Linked DNA regions of Homo sapiens: regions 1 and 2 are each linked to region 3. The links are contacts of gene promoters, found by promoter capture Hi-C in human tissues and cell types (Jung and others, 2019). All regions are on one chromosome and are shown on one strand. Each heading gives the region's core, a stretch centred on a gene start or on the middle of the fragment in contact. The rest is flanking DNA. Distances are from core to core; before and after follow the strand shown. Region 1 overlaps CTNNA2 (catenin alpha 2). Region 2 overlaps CTNNA2 (catenin alpha 2). Region 3 holds the start of LRRTM1 (leucine rich repeat transmembrane neuronal 1).

Region 1 (4,438 bases), core at 1,195-3,694, 230 kb after region 3:
GACAAAAAGAATTATAACTTGAGAATTGTAACTTTATACAAAACTAAGGGGTAAACTACGCAAGTGATCACATAGAGCTCCCTTCGGTTTTTATCATTGTCTTCCCCTTGTTTCTTTTGTAAAACTCATCACAATATAAACTTTTAATGCATTACTTTGCTAAATTCTGTCTTCCCACCAAAATATAAGCTCATCTAGGGCATAAGTAATATTTTACTTGTATCTTCCATGTCTGTCATATATAGGCACTCAATATTTATTGAATGAGTGATCAATGATTGGATAATGTCATTCAAATATATTTTCACTTTTATAGTGACCTTTCAATAAATTGCATCTTATGGCGGTAACATTTGTCAAGTCATTACTGGGTGCTGGGTTAACTAATCTCTTATTGCAACATTGTAATATTTTATATTTATATTTTATAACTGAGACACAATTGAGGCTCAGAGATGCAACACGTCTCACCCAGCTGGTGAGAATAAGAGTCAGAACATAAACCCTGGGCTGCTTGACTGCAAAGGCCAGGTCTTACCAATTATGATTTTTAAAATTAAACTATATAGAATGACCAAGAGTGCCAGATGCCTTATAGAGGTCATTTAAAACAGAGGCAAGAAAAAGTGATTCCACTTCCTCCTGTCCCCCAGTGTACTTAAGCCCCCAGCTGCTGACATCCACTGAGCATCCTTCCCTGATCAAATTATCCCTGCTGTTTAAGTTTCCTCTATCCTGTAGAACTGCAGTGACTGTTAATCAGGCTGATAAACTTATGCCAGTGTGTAGCTGCTCATTTTAAAATGATTCCATAATACCTCAGCAGGAAAGCGAGACAACTCCTACAATATTCTTCTGGGCAGCCAGACTTGACTCTCCTCAAGTCCAATTTTGATGGTGGCCATTTAGCCTATTCCTATGCCCATCTTCCTGGAAGCTGATCATCGAAGGCTGAGCCTGTTTTTCTACCAGCTGCTTCTGTCTTGCCTCTCAAAGGTTTCAGGGAGGTTTATCATTTCCACTGTTATTGAATTGTGAAACTCCATCTGTATTATAGGAGTCATGTTCTGTAGGAACCTTGTGGTTCTCTAGAAGATAGGCATATATGTTAACATCTTCGTGTGTACTAATTACATCAGCACAGATAAATGAATAAACCTTCAGATGGAGACCGCAGCACTTTTCATTGTGATGATAGTTTTAGAGAAAAATGTTTTGCGTGAAATCTGTGCCACCATCCTCTCTGTGGTTTTATATGGCCACATGACTGACTATAAATTCAAGTAATTCCCCTTGAATTTATTTAAATAAATTCATTTTATTCTCAAATTTACAGTGATGATGAAATATTAACATGAGGAGCAAGTGCTTTATGGACCTTCGAATTGCTATTCTGCTTTATTTCAATAGTGTGTTCTTAAAACACCAATATGATACCTGAAGCTGTAAAAATTAATGAAATGATTCAGTGTTTGGGAGTTGAATGCAGTGAATATTTGCTGGTGTTTCAAACAGAACAGAATCACAAATATTAAAAAATGTAATTTGATTTCCGAGGCCAGAAAAAGGGAAAATGTTCTCATTTTTCTGATGTACTTCATATCACGTTGGAGTTAAATGCCTAAATACTTTATTAGCAGAGGTTTTTAATGTCTAATTGAAGCTCAGCCTTCCAGGCATTTTGGCTTTTCTTGTGAGTGTTCAAACAAGACTGTGGCTCTTTTGAGACAGAGCTGCTTTTCTGTGGCGGTGTCCACACAAAACTGAATTGTACAGCCACGATGTAGTTTATCAAGATCTGTGAGCTGTGTGGGGTTTTCTTTGTGTGATTAAAAAACATCTTGCCTTTTTAAATGGTCACTATACATTTTACTTTAACTTCTGGGATACGTGTGCAGAATGTGCAGGCTTGTTACATAGGTATACATGTGCCATGGTGGTTTGCTGCACCCATCAACCCATCATCTAGGTTTTAAGCCCCACATGCATTAGGTATTTGTCCTAATGCTTTCCCTCCCCTTGCATCCCACCCCCTGACAGGCCCCAGTGTGTGTTGTTCCCCCTCCCTGTGTCCATGTGTTGTCATTGTTCAACTCCCACTTATGAGTGAGAACATGCAGTGTTTGGTTTTCTGTTCCTGTGTTAGTTTGCTGAGAATGATGGCTTTCAGCTTCATCCATGTCCCTGAAAAGAACATGAACCCATTCTTTTTTATGGCTGCATAGTATTCTGTGGTGTATATGTGCCATATTTTCCTTATCAAGTCTATAATTGATGGACATTTGGTTGGTACTATGCCTTTGCTATTGTAAATAGTGCTGCATTAAACATATGTGTGCATGTGTCTTTATAGTAGAATGATTTATAATCCTTTGGGTATATACCCAGTAATGGAATTGCTGAGTCAAATGATATTTCTGGTTCTAGATCCTTGAGGAATAGCCACACTGTCTTCCACAATGGTTGAACTAATTACACTCCCACCAACAGTGTAAAAGCGTTCCTTTTCTCCACAGCCTCGCAAGCATCTGTTGTTTCCTGACTTTTTTTTTTTTTTGAAACGGGGTTTTACTTTTGTTGCCCAGGCTGGAGTGCAATGGCATGATCTCAGCTCACTGCAACCTCTGCCTGCTGGTTTCAAGCAACTCTCCTGCCTCAGCCTCCTGAGTAGCTGGGATTACAGGCATGTGCCACCACACCTGGCTAATTTAGTATTTTTAGTAGAGGTGGGGTTTCTCCATGTTGGTCAGGCTGTTCTCGAACTCCCGACCTCAGATAATCCACTCAACTCGGCCTCCCAAAGTGCTGGGATTACAAGCATGAGCCACCACACCCGCCCTGTTTCCTGACTTTTTAATGATCGCCATTCTAACTGGCATAAGATGATATCTCACTGTGGTTTTAATTTGCATTTCTCTAATGACCAGTGATGATGAGCTTTTTTTCATATGTTTGTTGGCCGCATAAATGTCATCTTTTGAGAAGTCTCTGTTCATATCCCTTGCCCACTTTTTGATAGGGTTGTTTTTTTCTTGTAAATTTAAGTTCCTTGTAGATTCTGGAAATTAGATCTTTGTCAGATGGGTAGATTGCAAAAATTTTCTCTCATTCTTTAGGTTGCCTGTTCACTCTGATGCTAGTTTATTTTGTTGTGCAGAAGCTCTTTAGTTTGATTAGATCCAATTTGTCAATTTTGGCTTTTGTTACTATTGCTTTTGCTGTTTTTTAGTCGTGAAGCCTTTGCCCATGCCTATGTCCTGAATGGTATTGCCTAGGTTTTCTTCTAGGGTTTTTATGGTTTTGGGTTTTACATTTAAGTCTTTAATCCATCTTGAGTTAATTTTTGTATAAGGTGTAAGGAAGGGGTCCAGTTTCTGTTTTCTGCATATGACTAGCCAATTTTCCCAGCACCATTTATTAAATGGGGAATCCTTTCCCCATTGCATGTTTTTGTCAGGTTTGTCAAAGATCAGATGGTTATAGGCATGTGGTGTTATTTCTGAGGTCTCTGTTCTGTTCCATTGGTCTATATGTGTGTTTTGGTACCAGCACCATGCTGTTTTGGTTACTGTAACCTTGTAGTACAGTTTGAAGTCAGGTAGCCTGATGCCTCCAGCTTTGTTCTTTTTGCTTAGGATTGTCTTGGCTATACAGGCTCTTTTTTGTTTCCACATGAAATTTAAAGTAGTTTTTTCTAATTCTGCAAAGAAAGTGAATGGTAGCTTAATGGGAATAGCATTGAATCTATAAGTTACTTTGGGCAGTATGGCAATTTTCACGATACTGATTCTTCCTGTCCACGAGCATGGACTGTTTTTCCATTTGTTTGTGTTCTCTCTTATTTCCTTGAGCAGTGGTTTGTAGTTCTCCTTGAAGAAGTCCTTCACATCCCTTGAAAATTGTATTCCTAGGTATTATTTTATTATCTTTGTAGCGATTGGGTCACAATGTATTTTTATGAGGGATGCATATGTTTGTTTTTTGAGATGCAGTTTCACTCTGTTGCCCAGACCAGAGTGGAGTGGAGCGATCTCGGCTCACTGTAACCTCCACCTCCTCAGTTCAAGCAATTCTTGTACCTCAGCCTCCTGAGTTATTTTTGTCAATTTTTAACTGTCTTATCAGGAATATTGTCACTCTGCTTTTGGCTTCCTGAGGTGATTATTAAAGAGTTACAGGATAGATGCCAATTGTAATACAAATTCAATTAATGGAGTTAAGTTACTTTCTTCAAAAAATAGGCATAGGCTCTCCTTGCTTTTTTTTTTTTGTTGTTGTTGTTGTTGTTCTTTCTAGTTCTGCTAATGATATTGTTAATGTTAAGTATTCATGTACTTACAAAGTGTGCCCAGAAGAGCCAAAAAAAAAAAAAAAGTTATATTCATTGAGCATCTAGAAAGTAGTGCTAAACAGGCAATCGTAAAATAAATCTTGCAGG
Region 2 (4,181 bases), core at 1,257-3,756, 250 kb after region 3:
GATAATTTTATGACTTGAGAAAATTATGGTTTGAATTGGCTAAGAGACTGGAATGAGGTCACAAGGTTAGAAAATAGTGCAGATGTGATAAGAACTTGGAATCTGTAATTTAACCTTTTCTTCATTTATTGCTTGAGAGGATAGGACCTTAAGGAAGAACTCTGAACCAGCCAGTGGAAAGCATAAAGGTTTTAGATAGTGAGTGGATATGACGTGCTCAAAGAAAGGTGGTGGCTGCTGACAAAGAGTTAGGCTTTCAGCATATTCCCTTTCTTTCTAGGAAAGCTTTACATGCCCTTCTTCAGGGGCATGTGGCTGCTCACAGGACTCACTGCTATGGTCAGGTATGGTTACTTATGGGAGCTTGTCAGAGCTTGCAGATGCATTGGGGTAAAAAAAAATGCTTCCACTGAATTAGAACAATCTACAACTCTGGAGAATATATAAGACTGGCCTGTTTTTAGTAGTTCTCCCCTCTTGACCAATGTCTTTTGGCTTCCTCAGGCCTTGATTTATATATATGAGATAAGATATATAGTCCAAGGAATGAGAGGAAACTAGGGAATAGAAAAAGAGAATGTAAGTCCACATTGGATAAGGTTGTTAATGAATAATGAATTGGTGCATATATATGCACAGAAGGGCCTCTCCCCTCAAACCCTAAGGGGGACCTTCATAGGTTTGCCTATGAGCTTTGGATGCCACCAGGCATTTTTAAAATAGCCATCTCTGAAAGGTCAGATATAGCCATGTTCCAAGTTCTGCATGATGAGATGTGTTGGTAGAAATATGTTGCTTTTTATGGGGAAAAGATTATTTACAAAGAGTTCTGTAGGTATTTGTTAGCCTGGAATAGCAAGTAAAACACAATACATAAACACAGGTATTGGTCATTCTCTTTAAAATATAAGCAGAAACAGAATAGTGTGGTATCATGTTATAAAGAGCACATCTAGAGACTGTTGCCCTTGGAACATCCTTACAGACTTAGACTTAGACATAATAACAAAAATAATGACAAGATATGACTGCATTTGAATTAGCTGAGAGTCAGCACTGCTTTCTTTCACATAAGCTTGCCCTTTGCATTCAATTGAGCAACACAAAGCAAGCCATACAGTATTTCTTTCCTCACTTGGAAGAGTTATAAAAAGGTATTTTTTTCCCTAATTCTCCAAATTAAGGACTTTTTCATTAGTAACCTTTAGGGAGACCATCTCACATTTCTGTGGCTTACAGTTCCCAGCCCATCAGCTCTATTCTTGTACAAAGTCTCAGCTTCATGTGAGATATCTGACAGAGTAACACTCACCTGGGTCTGTCACTAGATAAATAATACCAGAGAAGTGTTGAAGACCTAGAGACAGGACTCAGTTCCTGCCCACTCATGACTGGTGGGAAGGACACTTGTGGCAGATGAAAGATACAGAGCATATTGCCAATTTTCATGTGACTTTCTACCCACAGATAACTCAGGCACTGTTCAAATGACATTTTAGAACTTTTTCTTATTGTATCTTGGACTGCTTTGACAACAGGAGTGCCACTTACTAGGTCAAAATCTAAAGGCAAGGACAATTGCTTAGTTGATTGTAATATTTTAACATAATTTTCACCCAAAGTCTTGATATGTAAATAATGTTCTGGTTGATTTTTCTACTTTTAAAAAAACAAATAGTCGTTCATCCTGGATTGTTGTTGCTAATCAAGATTTTTGCTCTTACTTGTTCTGAGTTTTTACAATTTTTATCCTGGCTTGCAATGATTGAGCACTCTGGGGGCTTAACTAAAGGCACCTTTCTTATTTTGATGCCCATATCCAATTCCTAATTGAATACGGTAGATGAGCAGGACATTTAAATTCTACTTTTCAGGATTTATTGAAGTTAACTAGGAAAGTAACCAGGCAGAGACTGAAATAGACAGCTTATATATAACTTTAATTGAAAATATAGGAATAAGTGTCAAGGAAAAGTGGGTGTCAGTGGACTAAGAGCTAGAATACAAAGGTATACAATTTCTTTGGTATTTGTCCCCAATTGTTCTTCTCTTTCTGAAACAGGAATAATGTTACTATTTTGTGAATAACTAGAGAGGTTGCCAAAGAAATGAAAGAAAAAAACTTCAGCTATTAACTCACTGACTGCTAATGAGAATTGCTGGGGAATGTGCTTGCATAAAGTAGACACGTGGAGTTTGAGGATGACCACAGGATCAGTTCTGTAATTATGGTTGTACAAAGTTTTGTTGGTGTGTGTGTGTGTGTATATATGTGTGTGTGTGTGTGTGTGTGTATATATATATGTTGTCTAAAGTGATTTACTTCTAATGTCATTGTATGTCTGTGCTAAGGAGACATAAGATATATGTCCTCAAAATAGAAACCCTGTGCATGTCCCTGATGCCAAATTATCTACCTTTTGCTTAGTTTTGTTTCTGACTTAAACAATTTTAGAGCCATGTTGAATTGGCCACTTTTCTATGTGAATCTATCAAATTTTGTCATGAGAGTACATTGTAGGGTGAGAGAGGGTGGTAGTGGGAAAAAAGGGAAAAATGCCAAGAGGAAAGATGAGGAGAAAGAAGACAAAATGTCATGGTTTTTGTTGTTGTTGTTGTTGCCACACCTACTAGGTTCTGCCCATTGATTTTTTTGTTTGATATTTTATTTTTAAAAAATTCTGTGCCATTAGATTCAAGACCTTGAGTCAGACATGCTCAACCTCTGTACTGTTGACACTTTGGTCTGAACAGTTGTTTCTTGGGGAGAGTTCTGGGGACTGTTTTGTCCATTATGGGATGCTTAGAAGCATCCCTGGACTCCACCTGCTAAATGTTTGTAGCATCTCTTTCTTCTACATGCCAAGTTGTAACCACCAAGATGTCTCTAGACATTGCCAGATATCCTTGAAGGAAGTGGGTCCTGGTGGGCAAAATAATGTGCACTGAGCATTACTGCCCTAAAGTAAAGAAATAACCCAAAATAGGGACAAGTTCAAACAGGACAGATTGGAGCCCATGTACTGTGGACATAGTGAAAAGGGAGTGGGGTTGGGAGTATATTACAAAGAAGAATCTGTAAAAGGGCAGAATAATCAAACAGCCTTGACTGAACTGGATGTTGCTGCTGAAGGTGTTTACACACAGGCAAACCCCTGTGTAGACAGATGAATGGCTGCATGGGTAGGTCACTGTAGGGAGACTCCCACTTTACCACTTGGCTGCCCTCGCTGAGTGGCTGGAAAATTGAGAGGTGCCCAAAGAGTGATAACACATCTGTGGTTTATTTTCCATGAATTATTTTCTTTCCTTAGTAAAGACAGTGCTTTGCTTAAGAGTGCTTCTTGTCTTGATATGAATGCTGAATTAAATTTAAGAAAATTTTGTAGATTATTAGTATGCTAAGAATTATAGGGTAGCATTATGTACAAATTTACCTGTTCATTTTCTATAAAACAATCTAGGCTGATGAAAACACAATAAATTGGATCTACAGCAGACCCATTAAATACTTACATGGCATATTTGATGGGCTCTTCAATAAAACCTGAATTATAACAAATTGCCAAACAGCTTAGTAGTAAGTACACGCTTGACCAGACCCATCTTCATAGATCTCGTTTACAAAGTTGGGTTGCTGCAGGAGGCTGAGGAGGGGTGAAAGCACATTCAGCGATATCATATTTATATATATATATACACACACATACAGTAGCTCATTCTTCACTGAATGGATTATATTGAAATGTCATTTTTGTAAATTTGATAGCTGACTCAAGTTTGTGGCCATGTGAGCGTGACTAGGTTAAAAGATCTGTGAGATTCTGCCAGATATTTTTTCTTCAGAGGAAACAATAGACCAAAAAAAAAAAAAAAAAAGAAAAAAGCATATTTTAAAAAGGGTTCTATGTTATGGAGCACTCTGTATGCAGAGATTAAAATTCCATTATTTTGGAAAATACGTGGGCCAAGCAGATGGTATAATTTTTACTTCCATGCTCTATAACCTAAAGTTTTATACGAATGGGAAGGTTTTTCGTTTTACAACATTTCTATATATTTTTGCTTAGAAAGTATAAAAGGACCAACAAATACAAAGCATCCAAACTGGAAATCTTATTGAGAGGGTACATTTGGGCCAGGACAATGCAGTAGAATGAATCCAAGGTTAGGATTCAGAA
Region 3 (4,387 bases), core at 768-3,267:
AGGTGGAAGGCGTACACGGCGTCCAGGACGTCCTCGCCCTGTGCGTACTCCGGGCTGGCGCACTGCAAGTTGCCATCGTAGCGCCCCTGGAAGTTGTTGAGCCACGAGGCTAGGGCACACACGTTGCGCCCGCAATCCCACAGGTTCCCGGCCAGGGTGATGCTTGTCAGGGACTTCCAAGAGTTGAGGATCCGGGGCTCGATGTAGGTGAGGCGGTTGGAGTCCAGCTGCAGGGACTGCAGGTGCGGCACGGTCTCGAACACATGGGGCTCCATGTACTCGATCTCGTTGCCCGACAAGTCCATTTTCTCCAGGTTCCAAACCCAGTCCAGCGAGCTGACCACAATGGCCACCTTGTTCCTCCGCAGGCAGAGCGAGTGCAGGGAGATGAGGCGCGGGAAGTGGGCGAAGTTCACCTTGACCAAGTCGTTGTGCTCGAGGTGCAGCTCGGTGAGCTTAAACAAGCCGGCGAAAGAGTTGCGCGCCAGACTCTTGAGCTGATTGTATCCGATGTCGAGAAACTTGAGGCTGCGGCAGTCCTGGAAGATGCGCACGGGCACAAACTGGATGGCGTTGGCCCGCATATGCAGCGTGGTGAGCTTCCGCAGCCCGTGGAAGAGGTCGGGCGCGAGCGCCTGCAGCTTGTTGTACGAGAGGTCCACGCTGCGCAGGTTGGGCATGGGCCGGAAGGTGGTGTTGGGCAGTTGGGTGATCTGGTTGGAACTCAGCGTGAGTTCCTTAACTCGGCGCAGTTTCTGAAAGGCGTCCCCCTGCACGGAGCAGATGTGATTGTGATCCAGATAGAGCCACGTGAGCTGCATTAACCCCGTGAACTGGCCGGCGCGCAGCTCCGAGAGGCTGTTGTAGCGCAGGGACAAGCCCAGCAGGCCGGACAGGTTGTGGGGCGCCTCGGTGAGGTTGAGCGCCTCGCAGTACAGCAGCCGCCCCTCGCACCGGCACAGCTGCGGGCACCCGCTGGGGGCGGCGGGCAGCATCTGAAAGCAGGCCCCCAGCAGACACAAGACCACCCCCGAGGGCCTCCTCAGCAGCCAGTATAGACAGAGACCGAGCAGCAGGAAATCCATTAGCGAGAATCTTTCCAGAGAGACTGGAGAATGTCCATTGGAAGCGCTCGGTCAGAAATCTACATCATATTTTATTCCGAGGGAGGGGAAGCGGGGGAGGGGGAGAAAAGGGCAAAAAATCAAATAAATACATAGAAATAAAGAAGGACCCCCCTCCCCAAAAACCACACGTTCACCTCTAAGCATGCAGAAAGCTGGGCAGCATAGAAAGTTCACAGCCACGGAAAGATCAAAGAGATGGTGATTTGGTCCATGTTAGATGCTGCAGCAAAGAAAAGGGAGGAAAAAAAAAATCTTCGGGAAAGAATTTAATTAAAAAGTGTCTTACCCACCCTTTTCCAGAGAGTGACAACCTCCATTCAGCTGCTCCCTTTGTGTGCAGGCTAATTATATGCAGGGCGAGAGAAGACCCCTCTGTGTTTCCGAGGCAGCCCCGGTCCGCGGCCGGCGGATCTGGCAGGCGCACAATGTCTCACTTTGCTGCTCGGCTCGGGGCTGCAAGGGCGGCCGGCAAGGCGGGGAGGCGACTTCTAGGACCCGCAAGTTTCCCAACTACGTGCCGGAGCCCGAGCTTCGCCTTCCTGCCGCCTTCCTTTCCCTCTGCAGTTCGGACTGTGACGTTGTGGGGGGAAAAAACTCCAAACTCGGGGCTCGCGACTCCCCAGGATCTGACAGTCTGGTTAATGTCCGTCATTGGAAACGACCACTGACCGGCGCCACCTTTTACTCCGCGGAAACAGCCTGCCATTCGCGCCCCGGGCAGCTGCAGAGAGCGGGCTCACTCATGCTTTGCGGGCGGCGGGCGGCGGGCGGCGGGCGGTGGGGAGGTGCGGACGGCGGCGCGGGGAGCGGCGAGCGGCGCCCGGGCTCCTTCCCTCCACCAGGCAGTGTGCGGCGCGAGCTTGCACAGGCACCTACTGCTCACTGAGTGTCGTAAGCTGCTCACGATTGTGCGTCTTCCCCGAGCACCTCAGACATGGGCAGATTGAAAAGGGGTGGGCATAAAACCAACATTTTACCGAACCACTAAAGTAATATATGTTTTTTGATGAAACGGAAAACACTTTCAGCTTTTTTGTCCATATTTCAAAAAAAAAAAAAAAAAAAAAAAGGAGGGGGGAGGGAGGTGGAGGTAGGGGTAGCATCATCCACGACAAGATATTTCCAAGTGGGAAACTGAAATGTTCTGTGCTCTCCCCCTTGCCTTTTGGGGATATATTCTTTTCCCCTTTAAAACTGTCTACGTGTAAGAGATACGTAGGAATCTGTAGAGAAATCAACGTTTGGACCTTTGCTTTAGAAAAGCAACTTGAGAGAAGACACAGGAAGGCAATGATTTGGGGCTTGGCTAAGATTTTTGGGGTTTTTTCCCCCTCTTGCGGGTACTGGAATTCTGCAGTCAGCCAGCCCTTTTTTGAGGTGGAGAGGGGAAATGCTTTCCAAACCCACCTAGTTTGGGAAGCCATCCAAGTCCCGGTGGTGTGAGATCCAGTGTGGCAAAAAGGTATGTCTGTGTGCAGGGAGACTTGACTGAGATCCCTCCGGGGCTTCATCAGGCTCCACAGATACATATGGGGTACAGAGTGGATTAAAGAACGATTGTACTGTCTGACATGGGGAGGGCTTACCCTGACTTGTGCTGTTCATGGTGATTACTGGGCCCTGCAGTGCACCCCACTCCAAGAGAGTGTGAATGTGTAGGGACGTGATAGTTTAAGCCATAATGAAGCCTACCCGTCTCCATACACACATCCTAATTAATCTTTGAGACTGCACTAAGTTGTGCCACTTTTTCCTCTGAGTATGACGAGAAGCCTTTGCCTCATTATTTCTATTCATAATCATTTATAGATAGGAGTCCTTACAATGAGCTCTCCCCCCACCTCCCCACACACACACCTTGTGCCTACTGGTCTGTAGAGGGTCTGCCCTGGGGAGGGTCAGTTGGTCATCTGTTTAAACAAAGTCCTCCAAGATGGCTGAGAAAGCCTGCGGGAAGTGAGTGTGGGCAAGCCTTCCTTCTTGACAAAGATGCCCAGGGAGATGGTAGGGAGAGTCAAATGTGAGTCTCCAGCTCCACTGTTTGAATTCCCATCGTTTCTGCCTCTAAGGAAGTCAAAATCAGTAGGCATTATATGTAGTGGCACTTACTTTGATAGGAATGAGGGTGGATTACCAGAGCCAGGGTAGATAGACTGGACAAGTAACTGGATTGGTCCTTAGCATCTAAGCTGAAGAGGCCAACCAATGGAATCAAAGTCACCAAAGACTGGTGGTACTTTTCAGGAAAAGTCATATGAACAGGGGCATGAATCATTCCATTTTGTATTCATCTGAGCTCTGCCCTGGTCATTCATCTCTGAGATGTATCATTTAATTGGAAGGAACACAAATCTGAAATGTCCTAGACATCACATGCTGTCTTAGGAGTTAGAAGAGACATTAGAAAATCAACCCCCTTAATTTTGCACGTGACTAAACTGAGGCCAAGAGACATCATGGTTTATCCAAGGTCATACAGCTTGCAACTGGCACAGATGGTTTTTTCTTTCTTTCTTTCTTTTCTTTTCTTTTCTTTTCTTTTCTTTCTTTCTTTCTTTCTTTCTTTCTTTCTTTCTTTCTTTCTTTCTTTCTCTCTCTCTCTTTCTTTCTTTCTTAATTTGCCATTCTTGATGATTGCCTCTCTGTCACTCTTGCTGCCTACCTAACTCTGGATCAGGCATTTGCATGTTTCATCCTGGCACCTCCAAGGTGCTGCGGAACACTTTAACAGACAGACAAACAAATTCACCATCAAGTGGTTTCACCTCTTGCCAAGACAATTATTCGTGACAGCAGGCCAGCTGATGGAGCCATAAACTCTAAAGGGTTGGGAGGTGGGGGAGGGGTGTTGAGGAGGCACCCGCAGGGTTAAACAGCGGCCAGCCATTCAGCGAGTACTGTGAGTACACACCACCCAATCCCTAGGGTTGCTAGGAAAAAAAAAAATCCTCCTAATGCTGGCTGCTTGGCAAAGTGGTGACAGAGGCTGCCAAATGGGCAAGAAGAGGTCCCACTTTGGATGTCACTTGATTTGTAGAGCTGGTGCAGAGAGGCAGAAGAGTTGAGTGTTGGCAAGAAAGAAAGGGAATAAAATTAAATTCACTGATTTATATGTGAGTTTTCTTCTAAGTGTGCTACTCAAAACTTACAAGATGCTCCTAGGCTGTAATTAAAATAAATAAATTATATATATATATTATATATAAATATATATTTTCTATATATTGCTTTTTGCATTATTATCCTGCAAATCATTTCAT

What was found. Contacts are between HindIII fragments. The study calls those that stand out against the background at their distance.
Region 1: a fragment that was not itself captured here is called in contact with the fragment with the promoter of LRRTM1 in region 3 in 3 of the 25 tissues and cell types used here (H1 embryonic stem cells, heart right ventricle and pancreas).
Region 2: a contact is called between a fragment that was not itself captured here and the fragment with the promoter of LRRTM1 in region 3, in 4 of the 25 tissues and cell types used here (H1 embryonic stem cells, IMR-90 fibroblasts, heart right ventricle and 1 more).

Annotation. Positions count from the first base shown.
Region 1 is chr2:80,535,054-80,539,491 of GRCh38, forward strand. The region is part of intron 9 of CTNNA2 (catenin alpha 2); the gene reads left to right. Among named protein-coding and RNA genes, the nearest start is that of LRRTM1, 230 kb to the left of the region's middle. The HindIII fragment of the contact is 4,505 bases long and covers 193-4,438 here.
Region 2 is chr2:80,556,194-80,560,374 of GRCh38, forward strand. The region is part of intron 12 of CTNNA2 (catenin alpha 2); the gene reads left to right. Among named protein-coding and RNA genes, the nearest start is that of LRRTM1, 250 kb to the left of the region's middle. The HindIII fragment of the contact is 9,339 bases long and covers 1-4,181 here.
Region 3 is chr2:80,302,735-80,307,121 of GRCh38, forward strand. LRRTM1 (leucine rich repeat transmembrane neuronal 1) reads right to left here and starts at 2,018. Exons shown (of 2, transcript NM_178839.5): 1 at 1,418-2,018; 2 at 1-1,144. The coding sequence starts at 1,085. The region is part of intron 7 of CTNNA2 (catenin alpha 2); the gene reads left to right. RefSeq lists an enhancer at 835-1,460. The HindIII fragment of the contact is 15,461 bases long and covers 1-4,387 here.